Regions from separate parts of the Homo sapiens genome. Here region 1 is linked to region 2. Evidence: promoter capture Hi-C in human tissues and cell types (Jung and others, 2019). All regions are on one chromosome and are shown on one strand. Each heading gives the region's core, a stretch centred on a gene start or on the middle of the fragment in contact. The rest is flanking DNA. Distances are from core to core; before and after follow the strand shown.

The links. Contacts are between HindIII fragments. The study calls those that stand out against the background at their distance.
Region 1: a contact is called between the fragment with the promoter of CA11 here and a fragment that was not itself captured in region 2, in 3 of the 25 tissues and cell types used here (IMR-90 fibroblasts, dorsolateral prefrontal cortex and lymphoblastoid cells).

What each region holds. Positions count from the first base shown.
Region 1 is chr19:48,644,462-48,649,235 of GRCh38, forward strand. It overlaps CA11 (carbonic anhydrase 11), which reads right to left and starts at 1,726. Exons shown (of 9, transcript NM_001217.5): 1 at 1,105-1,726; 2 at 942-1,016; 3 at 1-108. The coding sequence starts at 1,171. It also overlaps the pseudogene SEC1P. RefSeq lists enhancers at 1-355, 356-1,056, 1,057-1,757 and silencers at 1,715-1,904, 1,935-2,344. The HindIII fragment of the contact is 19,792 bases long and covers 1-4,774 here.
Region 2 is chr19:48,727,124-48,731,487 of GRCh38, forward strand. It overlaps RASIP1 (Ras interacting protein 1), which reads right to left. Exons shown (of 12, transcript NM_017805.3): 5 at 1,814-2,467; 6 at 270-307; 7 at 1-35. LOC124904737 (a long non-coding RNA gene) reads left to right here and starts at 1,021. Exons shown (of 2, transcript XR_007067286.1): 1 at 1,021-1,245; 2 at 4,143-4,364. The HindIII fragment of the contact is 9,581 bases long and covers 1-4,364 here.

The sequences.
Region 1 (4,774 bases), core at 476-2,975, 82 kb before region 2:
GAAAGGGGTCATAAAGAACCCTCTTCAGCTCCACATCCACGGGGCTCTGCCGCTTCCCCACAGCACACAGACTCCACGCTGCATTCACCAGGCCCCAGAAAGGAGGCCCTGGGGGTGGGGTCGGAGTAGGAGGACAAGGAGTCAGAAATAGAGACTGGATCCCAGGGCTGGTATCTGCTGAGTGGGCTGTGGTCTGGACTCCCAGATCCCAGGGGAGGAGGGGCTAGGGACCTAGACTCCTGGGTCTGAGGGAGGACTGGGCTCAGATCCAGAATTCTGGGTCCTAGAAGAATCTTGGAATAGTTTCCAAGTTTAGCAGAGACGGGTTTCACCAAGTTGGCCAGGCTGGTCTTGAACTCCTGACCACAGGTAATCCACCCACCTCGGCCTCCTAAAGTGCTGGGATTTCAAGCGTGAGCCACCGCGCCCAGCCGATCAAACCCATCTTAAGCCACTGTAGATGGAACTACAACTCCCAGCAGGCCCCAGTGCTACCAGCCTACCCCTCTGCTGCCTACCTGCCCCAGAGCCCCGTGGGAGTTGTAGTTCTTTTTTTTAATCGCTCTTATCCCACAGCTGGATTATTATTAATGTGTTGGGGAGAGGAGCTGCAAGAGAAGGCTGGACAAGGTGGGGGACGGGGCCACCCAGCCTCTGGTTCCTAGCAGGAGCCAGGACCTTCCTCTCCCGGCAAACACACACATAATCTCCACCCCCACACTTTCCTTCCACTCACTCCCACTCACTACTTGAAATGCGCATGTATAATGTCCCATGGTGAGCCCCTGGGGTTCAGAAGCTGGCCCGACTCCTGAGGGACAGAGGAGGGGGCTGGGACTCCTGGTCCTGGGGGGGAGGAGGGAGCTGGGAACCCAGGTTCCTGAGTCTGAAGAAGGAGGCGCCGGGAGGGCCGGACTCCTGGGTCCCCGCCTTGGCGGCACCTGGCACGAAGTTTCCCTGGAGATTATCCTTGTAGCTCCACCAGTCCTCGGGGTCAGGTGCTGGTCCGATGTGAGCTGGGAAGAGAGCAGCCTGAATCCCTCTCCTTGGCATCCCCACCTCCACCCTCCCTCGGGGGCTCCTCCCGGGAACCCCAGGTCTTACCTGCTGCCCCCAGTGCAGCCCAGAGTACCAGCGCTCGAGGGGCGCTCAGACGAGCTGCAGCCCCCATCCCCAGGAGGCCTCCGAGGGACCCCTGCCCAACGCCCTGCCCCCCTCTCTCAGCTCCTCTGTCCCCTCCTTCTGGGACCCTGTCCCTCCAGGACTTCCAGCTTTCCTCTCCTCCCCACAGGGAGTCCCAGTTCCCCAAATGCCAAAGCAGCCAGGGACTGAGATCCGCCCTTCAAACCCACTCTTCTTCTCTCTCCCGTCTCTCTGTGTCTTTCCTCTTTCCTCTGCTCTTTTCCCGGAACCCTCCAGTCTCCCTCTAGCTCCTGATCTTCCTACTCCTCTCAGCCTTCTGCTGCCCCCAGGGCTACCTCTTGGTTCCTAACCCACACCTCCTCTCCGTTCTCTTTTCATTAAGCTCTCCCAAGCCACCTAACTCCAGGTCTCCATCCCGCATCTCCTCCTCCTCCTCCCTCTCTCCTTTCCAGCTCCTGCCTCTTCTCCCCTCTCTCCTTCTTCACCTCCTCCCGCCCTCCCTCAGTGTCGGCCTCCAGCTTCGTGCTCTCCCCACCTCCTCCTCTCCTGCCTCTTCTCCCTGTTTCAGTCTCTCTTCTCTCTTGTCCCTTCCTCCCTCCTCCCCCTCCCTCTCTCCTCTCCCGTGGTGTTATTTAATTTTGTTGTTGGGCTGGGGGAGCAGGTGATCTCATAGCGGCAAACACTCCTCGGGTTGGCTTGGGGTGGGATGTGCGAAAGGGCAGGATTCGGAAGGAGGTAGGGGGCTGGTCCTCGGCTCCCAGCCGCGCTGGGGCCACGCGGGCGGGGGTGGCCGGGACACCTGGGGCCGGGAGCAGGCTGTTTCCATCCTCCGCAGCAAGGGGAAGGGGGGGCGCTTAAGGTGGAGCTGGGAGTGGCTTCGGAAGTCTCCATGCTGGGGGCCGCCGGCCTTGGCGGATGCAGGGTCCCCCTGCTCGCTGGGACCCAGGTTGGAGCCGCCCCAGCGCCCGCAGCCCCCCTTCCCCGCCCCAGGGCTCCACTGGGTCTCTGCCTGGGGCTGCCTTAACGGGGCCGGGGGATCCCCTAGGAGCCTGAAGTGCAGTGAGGGCTGCTCGCCTGGAGGGGGAGGCAGAGACCTGGCGAGGGAGAGAGGGGCGGGGAGGAGGAGCCGGGAGGGCAGAGGCGGAGAGCGGGAGGTGAGGACCCACATCTGCGTAGGCTGGGGAGGGGAAGGGAGCCTGAGATGGATACGGAGAGGAAGGGCGGAGGGACAGAAGGTTAGAGAGGCAAGAACAAACCGCCAGGCAGGAGTGAGGAGGAGGGGGAGGAGGTGAAGGAGGAGGGGGAGGAGGGAGAGGAGGGGGAGGGAGAGGAGGGGGAGGAGGGAGAGGAGGAGGGGGAGGGAGAGAGGAAGGAATGAATGAGAGAGATACAGATAGAGGCAGAAAAGGAGATACAGAGACGCAGCGAGACAGACATGGAGACATAGAGACACACACTTAGAGATAGACAGAAACTCAGAGACCAAGCAGCAGATGGGGTGGGGAGAGACAAAAAGAGAGAAAGAGCGATCCAAAGACAGAGAGAGACACCACATTTTTGTATTTGGGGAGAAGAGATGGGGTCATGCTATGTTGCTCAGGCTAGTCTCAAACTCCTGTCCTCAAGGGATCCTCCCACCTTGGCCTCCCAAAGCATTGAGATTACAGGCATGAACAACCATACCCAGCCTCAGAGAGACCACATATTACTGTTGTTGTTGTTATTTATTATTTTTCACCCCGTCTAATGGTAGTGAAACTGCTCATTGTCTTCTTTTATTTTCTTTTTTGAGACAAGCCTTGCAATGTCACCCAGGCTGGAGAGCAGTGGTGCGATCATGGCTTGATCCAGCCTCGACCTCCTGGGCTTAAACACTCCTTCCACCTCAGCCTCCCAAATAGTTGGGACTACAGGCACATGCCACCATGCCAGGCTAATTTTTAAAAATTATTTTTTGTAGAGATGTAGTCTTGCTATGATGCCCAGGCTGGTCCGGAACCCCTGGGCTCAAGGGATCCTCCTGCCTTGGCCTCCCAAAGTGCTGGGATTACAGGTGTGAGCCACCTTGTCCAGCCTGACACCAAACATTAACGAGACAGAGAGACATAGAAAGAGACACACATACATCAGTACAGGTGGAGAGAGACACAGAGAGGGAGAGACATAGAAACACACACACAGACTGAGCATGGTGGCTCACACCTGTAATCCCAGAACTCTGGGAGGTCAAGGTGGATGGATCACTTGAGGCCAGGAGACTGAGACCAGCCCGGCCAACATGGCCAAATGCCATCTCTACTAAATACATAAAAACTTAGCCAGGCATGGTGGCTCACGCCTGTAATCCCAGCACTTAGGGTGGTCGAGGTGGGTGGATCACCTGAGGTCAGGAGTTCAAGACCAGCCTGACCAAAATGGTGCAACCCCGTTTCTACTAAAAAATACAAAAACTAGCTGAGCGTGGTGGCACACACCTATAATCCCGGCTACTCAGGAGGCTGAGACAGGAGAATCGCTTGAACCGGGTAGGTGGAGGCTACAGTGAGCCGAGATCCCAACAGTGCACTCCAGCCTGGGCAACAGAGTGAGACTCCATCTCAAAAAAAAAAAAAAAAAGAAAGAAAGAAAGAAACACACACACAGAGCTAGAGACAGAGACCTGGGAACAGGCACACACACATCTATAAATAGAGACACTCGTGCAGAGAAAGAGACATCAACAGAGAGGAACAGATGGACAGAGATAGAGAGACCCAGATAGAGGGAGAGAGGACCAGAAGCAGACCAACTGACATGATGGGAGAGACTACAAAGGAATCAGAAAGACAGAGGTATTCAGAGATAGCAAATTGGGATGGACATTCAAAGACCTAGAGATGGAGAGAGACACCCAGAAAGAAACCCAGAGAGTCAGGGGTGGAGAGAGACACGAAGAAAAAACACAAGAAGGAAAGGTACATACTAATAATTTATTGCTGGCGGGGCTTGGTGGTTCATGCCTGTAATCCCAGCACTTTGGGAGGCTGAGGAGGGAGGATCACTTGAGATCAAGAGTTTGAGACCAGCCTGGGCAACATAGTAAGACCTCGTCTCTATTTTTTATGAAAAAGAAAAAAACAGGCCGGGCACAGTGGCTCACACCTGTAATCCTAGCACTTTGGGAAGCTGAAGCGGGCGGATCACGAGGTCAGGAGATTGAGACCACGGTGAAACCCCATCTCTACTAAAAATACAAAAAATTAGCCGGGCGCGGTGGCGGGCGCCTGTAGTCCCAGCTCCTCGGGAGGCTGAGGCAGGAGAATGGCGTGAACCCGGGAGGTGGAGCTTGCAGTGAGCTGAGATCACGCCACTGCACTCCAGCCTGGGCGACAGAGCGAGACTCCGTCTCAAAAAAAAAAAAAAAAAAGAAAAAAGAAAAAGAAAAAAATAGTTGGGGAACGGCAGCTCACGCCTGTAATTCCAGCACTTTGGGAGGCCGAGGAAGGCAGATCACTTGAGGTCAGGAGTTTGAGACCAGCCTGACCAACGTGGTGAAACCCCGTCTTTACCAAAAATACAAAAATTAGGCTGGGCGCAGTGGCTCACGCCTGTAATCCCAGCACTTTGGGAGGCCAAGGCGGGCGGATCACAA
Region 2 (4,364 bases), core at 196-2,695:
GAGTCAGGGGCACCTCGGGGACCCCCTCAGGGTGGCTTGAAAAAGAGGAAGGAATTTGTGATCCCTGCCCAACCCTCATCATAGTTTACAAACCCCAAGATCTAAGTCTAAGTGGGAGAGCAAGACCAACTCCCATTGCGCAGCTGGAAAAGTTGAGCGCAAGGAGAAGCAGAAACTTGCACTGGGGCATGCATGGGGTGAACACAGAACTAGACGCAAAACCCAACCCCTGCATCCCTCCAGACCACTCTGCTCAGAATTTCTCTTACTTTTCTGGCTGACGGTCTCCAATTTCCTTAATCTTTTCCTGTGGAACAGTAAGATCAGAATCAAGGTGAGGGGGATCCACTGAGGGGCTTAAGAGTTAATACCCTGGTTTTTATAGAAGCACAACTCTCATAGAGACTGGTCCTACTTTTCTTAGAGATGGGGTCTTACTATGTTGCCACCGGTGGTCTCCAACTCCTGAGCTCAAATGATCCTCCCACCTTGGCCTCCCAAAGAACTAGGATTACAGGCATGAGCCACTGCAACCGGCCTTCACTCTTCATACGGATTCTTTTTTTTTTTTTTTTTTTTTGAGATGGAGTTACCCTGTTGTTGCCCAGGCTGGGGTGCAATGGCTCAATTTTGGCTCACTGCAACCTCTGCCTCCCAGGTTCAAGTGATTCTCCTGCCTCAGCCTCCCAAGTAGCTGGGATTACAGGCATGTGCTACCATGCCCGGCTAATTTTTTGCATTTTTAGTAGAGACGGGGTTTCACCATGTTAGCCAGGATGGTCTCGATCTCCCGACTTCAGGTGATCTGCCCGCCTCGGCCTCCCAAAGTGCCGGGATTACAGGCATGAGCCACCACGCCTGGCTCTTGAGACAAATTCTAATCCCACAAGCTTTAGAATGGTCTCTCCTTACTTTTTAAAACATACACACCCTATGATTATGAGTGATCTAGCTCCTTCAGGTCCTCTTCTCCAATTTTTACCCCCAAGAAACTCCTTAAACCTCTCTGGTTAGGCCCTAGCTCAATAGGATGGAACGTTTCCCCCACTCTGAATGGTTTCTTTCTGGAACTTCCATCTGTAGGTCCAGTGGATTTGTGCTTCCTCGCCTCCAAGAATGAACTCGCTCACTGCTATCCAAGCTCCAAGCCCAATGGGCTGCGGTGAATTCTCACACTGATCTCTGTCAACTTCTCATCCAGTGGGATCTCTCCCCCACCATCTCCCATAATGGTTTCTTCCTAAGGTGAGTTCGTGCTTAGGTGAGCTCTCCTAAGGTGAGTTTGGGCTTCCCTCTAAGTGCAGTGGATCTACATCTCCCAGCATTCTATGGGGGGGCCCCTTGCTTAATAACCCCAAAACACCGGGTGTGGTGGCTCACACCTGTAATCCCAGCACTTTGGGAGGCCGAGGCGGGCGAACCACGAGGTCAGGAGTTCCAGACAAGCCTGGCCAATATGGTGAAACCCCGTCTTACTAAAAATACAAAAAATTAGCCGGGCGTGCTGGCAGGCGCCTGCAATCCCAGCTACTCGGGAGGCTGAGGCAGAAGAATCATTTGAACCCCGGAGGTAGAGGTTGCAGTGAACCAAGACCGCCACTGCACTCCAGCCTGGGTAACAGAGCGAGACTCCGTCTCAAAAACAAAAGCAAACAAACAAACAAACAAAACCCAAAACCCCAAATCCTTCCCGAGGCGTCATGGGAACAGTAGTATCCAGCCCAGCTATGAAAAGGGTTGAAGGTAGGGAAGGGAGGCTGGAGAAGGGACTTGGGGCGCTGGTGGGGCTGGACGGCGATTGGGGGGCGCTCACCCAGACGGCCTCCTTGATGAGCCGGGCCAGGCGGCCCAGCAGTCGTGGCAGGTGGCCCAGCTCCAGCTCACGGGCGGAATGCTGCACGCACAGCGCCAGCAGCGTGGCGGGCCCGAGGGGCGGCAGGTCTCCCGAGCCGGCGGCTGCGGCGCGCACGATCTCGCCCAGCAGCGCCTCCTCCTCGCGCGGCCGGAAGCGCAGGACTGGCTCACGGCCGTCCAGGTAGGCGGCCAGTGCCTCGCCGCGCTCCTGCAGGCCGCGGCCGCACAGGCGACAGGAGAAGGCCCAGCCAGGGCCTGGCGGCGTGGCCCCGGGGCGCGCGGGCAGCCACGGCGGCCTCGCAGGCCCCGAGCCCCCAGTGCGGGGGTCCTTGTACATGAACAGGAAGTGCTCGCCCAGCCCCAGGAGGTCGCCCGGGTGCAGCTCAGCCTCCCGCAGCAGGAGGCACCCGTTGTGCGTGACTGGGGCGCCCCGGGACGGGCGCACCATGGCCGGGTGCTCAGGGCCCGCGCGCACTGTGCAGTGACGCGGCAGGATGTCCGGGGCGTTGAGGAAGGTGTCCACATAGGGAGCCGGGGACCCCCCGCGGCCAGACGAGTTCCCACCTCGCCCAAACACGTGCTGCTCTCGCGTCATCACATACACCACAAAGTCCTGGAGGGGAAACGAGGATGCACTAAGGACATCACTTCAATCCATATCTTCAGATCTGTTCTCTCTGTTTTCTACAACAACTTTTCTATTCCCACCAACTTTTTTTTTCCTTCTTCTTCTTTTTTTTTTTTTTTTTTTTTTTGAGATGGAGTCTCGCTCTGTCCTCCAGGCTGGAGTCCAGTGGCACGATCTCGGCTCACTGCAACCTCTGCCTCCTGAGTTCAAGCAATTCTCCTGCCTCAGTCTGTTGAGTAGCTGGGAGTACAGGCGCCTGCCACCACACCCGGCTAATTTTTGTATTTTTAGTAGGGAAAGGGTTTCACCATGTTGGCCAGGCTGGTCTTAAACTCCTGATCTCAGGTGATCCACCTACCTCGGCCTCCCGAAGTGCTGGGATTACAGGCGTGAACTATCGCGCCCGGCCCCCCACCGACTTTGAATAGACACTCCAAGGAGATCTGGATCTCAAAGGACTCTCTAAGCACCCGCAACGCCACTGAGTGGACTCTTCCCAGGCACTTTGTATGGTGGATGGTCCCATAACACCCATCCCGAAGACCGGCTATGTACAAGGAGACCCCCCTTTTTTTCTTTGAGACAGAGTCACGCTCTGTTGCCAGGCTGGAGTGCAGTGGCACGATCTCGGCTCACTCCAACCTCCGCCTCCCGGGTTCAAGCGATTCCCCTGCCTCAACCTCCCGAGTAGTTGAGACTACAGGCGCGCACCATCACGCCCAGCTAATTTTTGTATTTTTAGTAGGGACAGGGTCACCATGTTGGCCAGGATGGTCTCGATCTCTTGACCTTGTGATCCGCCTGCCTTGGCCTCCTAAAGTGCTGGGATTACAGGTGTGAGCCACCACACCCAGCCAGAGACCCATTTCTTAACATGGGCTCTACCATTTCTTTCCCTCAAGCATTAGATGCTTTCAAGGAGATCCCTATTTCTAAAATGAACTGTGCAACTACCCTCACCCTCAAAGAATGGACCTTTCCAAGGAAATCTCCTTTTCCCCATCCCTGGTCCCACCTGTCCATTATTTCACCCCCACCCCACCATGGTAAAGGCTTCCAGATATATTTCCCCTTCCAATAATAGTTTTTCTCAATATTCCTCAAGCAATGAATGGGTACTTTTAAAGAGATTCCCTTGGACTGGGCATAGTGGCTGACACCTGCAATCCCAGCACTTTGGGAGGCCGAGGCAGGTGAATCACCTGAGGTCAAGAGTTCAAGACCAGACACGGTGAAACCTGTCTCTACTAAAAATACAAAAATTAGCCAGGCATGGTGGCGCATGACTGTAGTCCCAGCTACTTGGGAGGCTGAGGCACAAGAATCGCTTGAACCCAGGAGGCAGAGGTTGCAATGAGCCAAGATCAGGCTACTGCACTCCAGCCTGGGCAACAGAGTGAGACTCAAAAAAAAGAGGCCGGGCGCAGTGGAGACCAAGGCCGGCAGATCACCTGAGGTAGGGAGTTCGAGACCAGCCTGACCAACGTGGAGAAACCCTCTCTCTACTAAAAATACAAAATTAGCCAGGTGAGGTGGCTCATGCCTATAATCCCAGCTACTCGGGAGGCTGAGGCGGGAAAATCGCTTGAACCTGGGAGGTGGAGGTTGCAGGAGTTAAGTCCTGCAATGGACTCACCTATTATTCCCACCCCCCTAACAGAGGATTTCAAAGAGATAATCCCCCTTCCATCAATGGATGTTCTCAATATTCCTACAATGGACTCCTACAATGGACTCACCTATTACTCCCACTCCCCCAACGGAGGATTTCAAAGAGATAACCCCCCTTCCATCAATGGACGTTCTCAATATTCCAATCCCCAAAAAGGACATCTCCAAAAAGATCTCCATACAGTGGGCTCTTCTGGTCATTCCACGGATA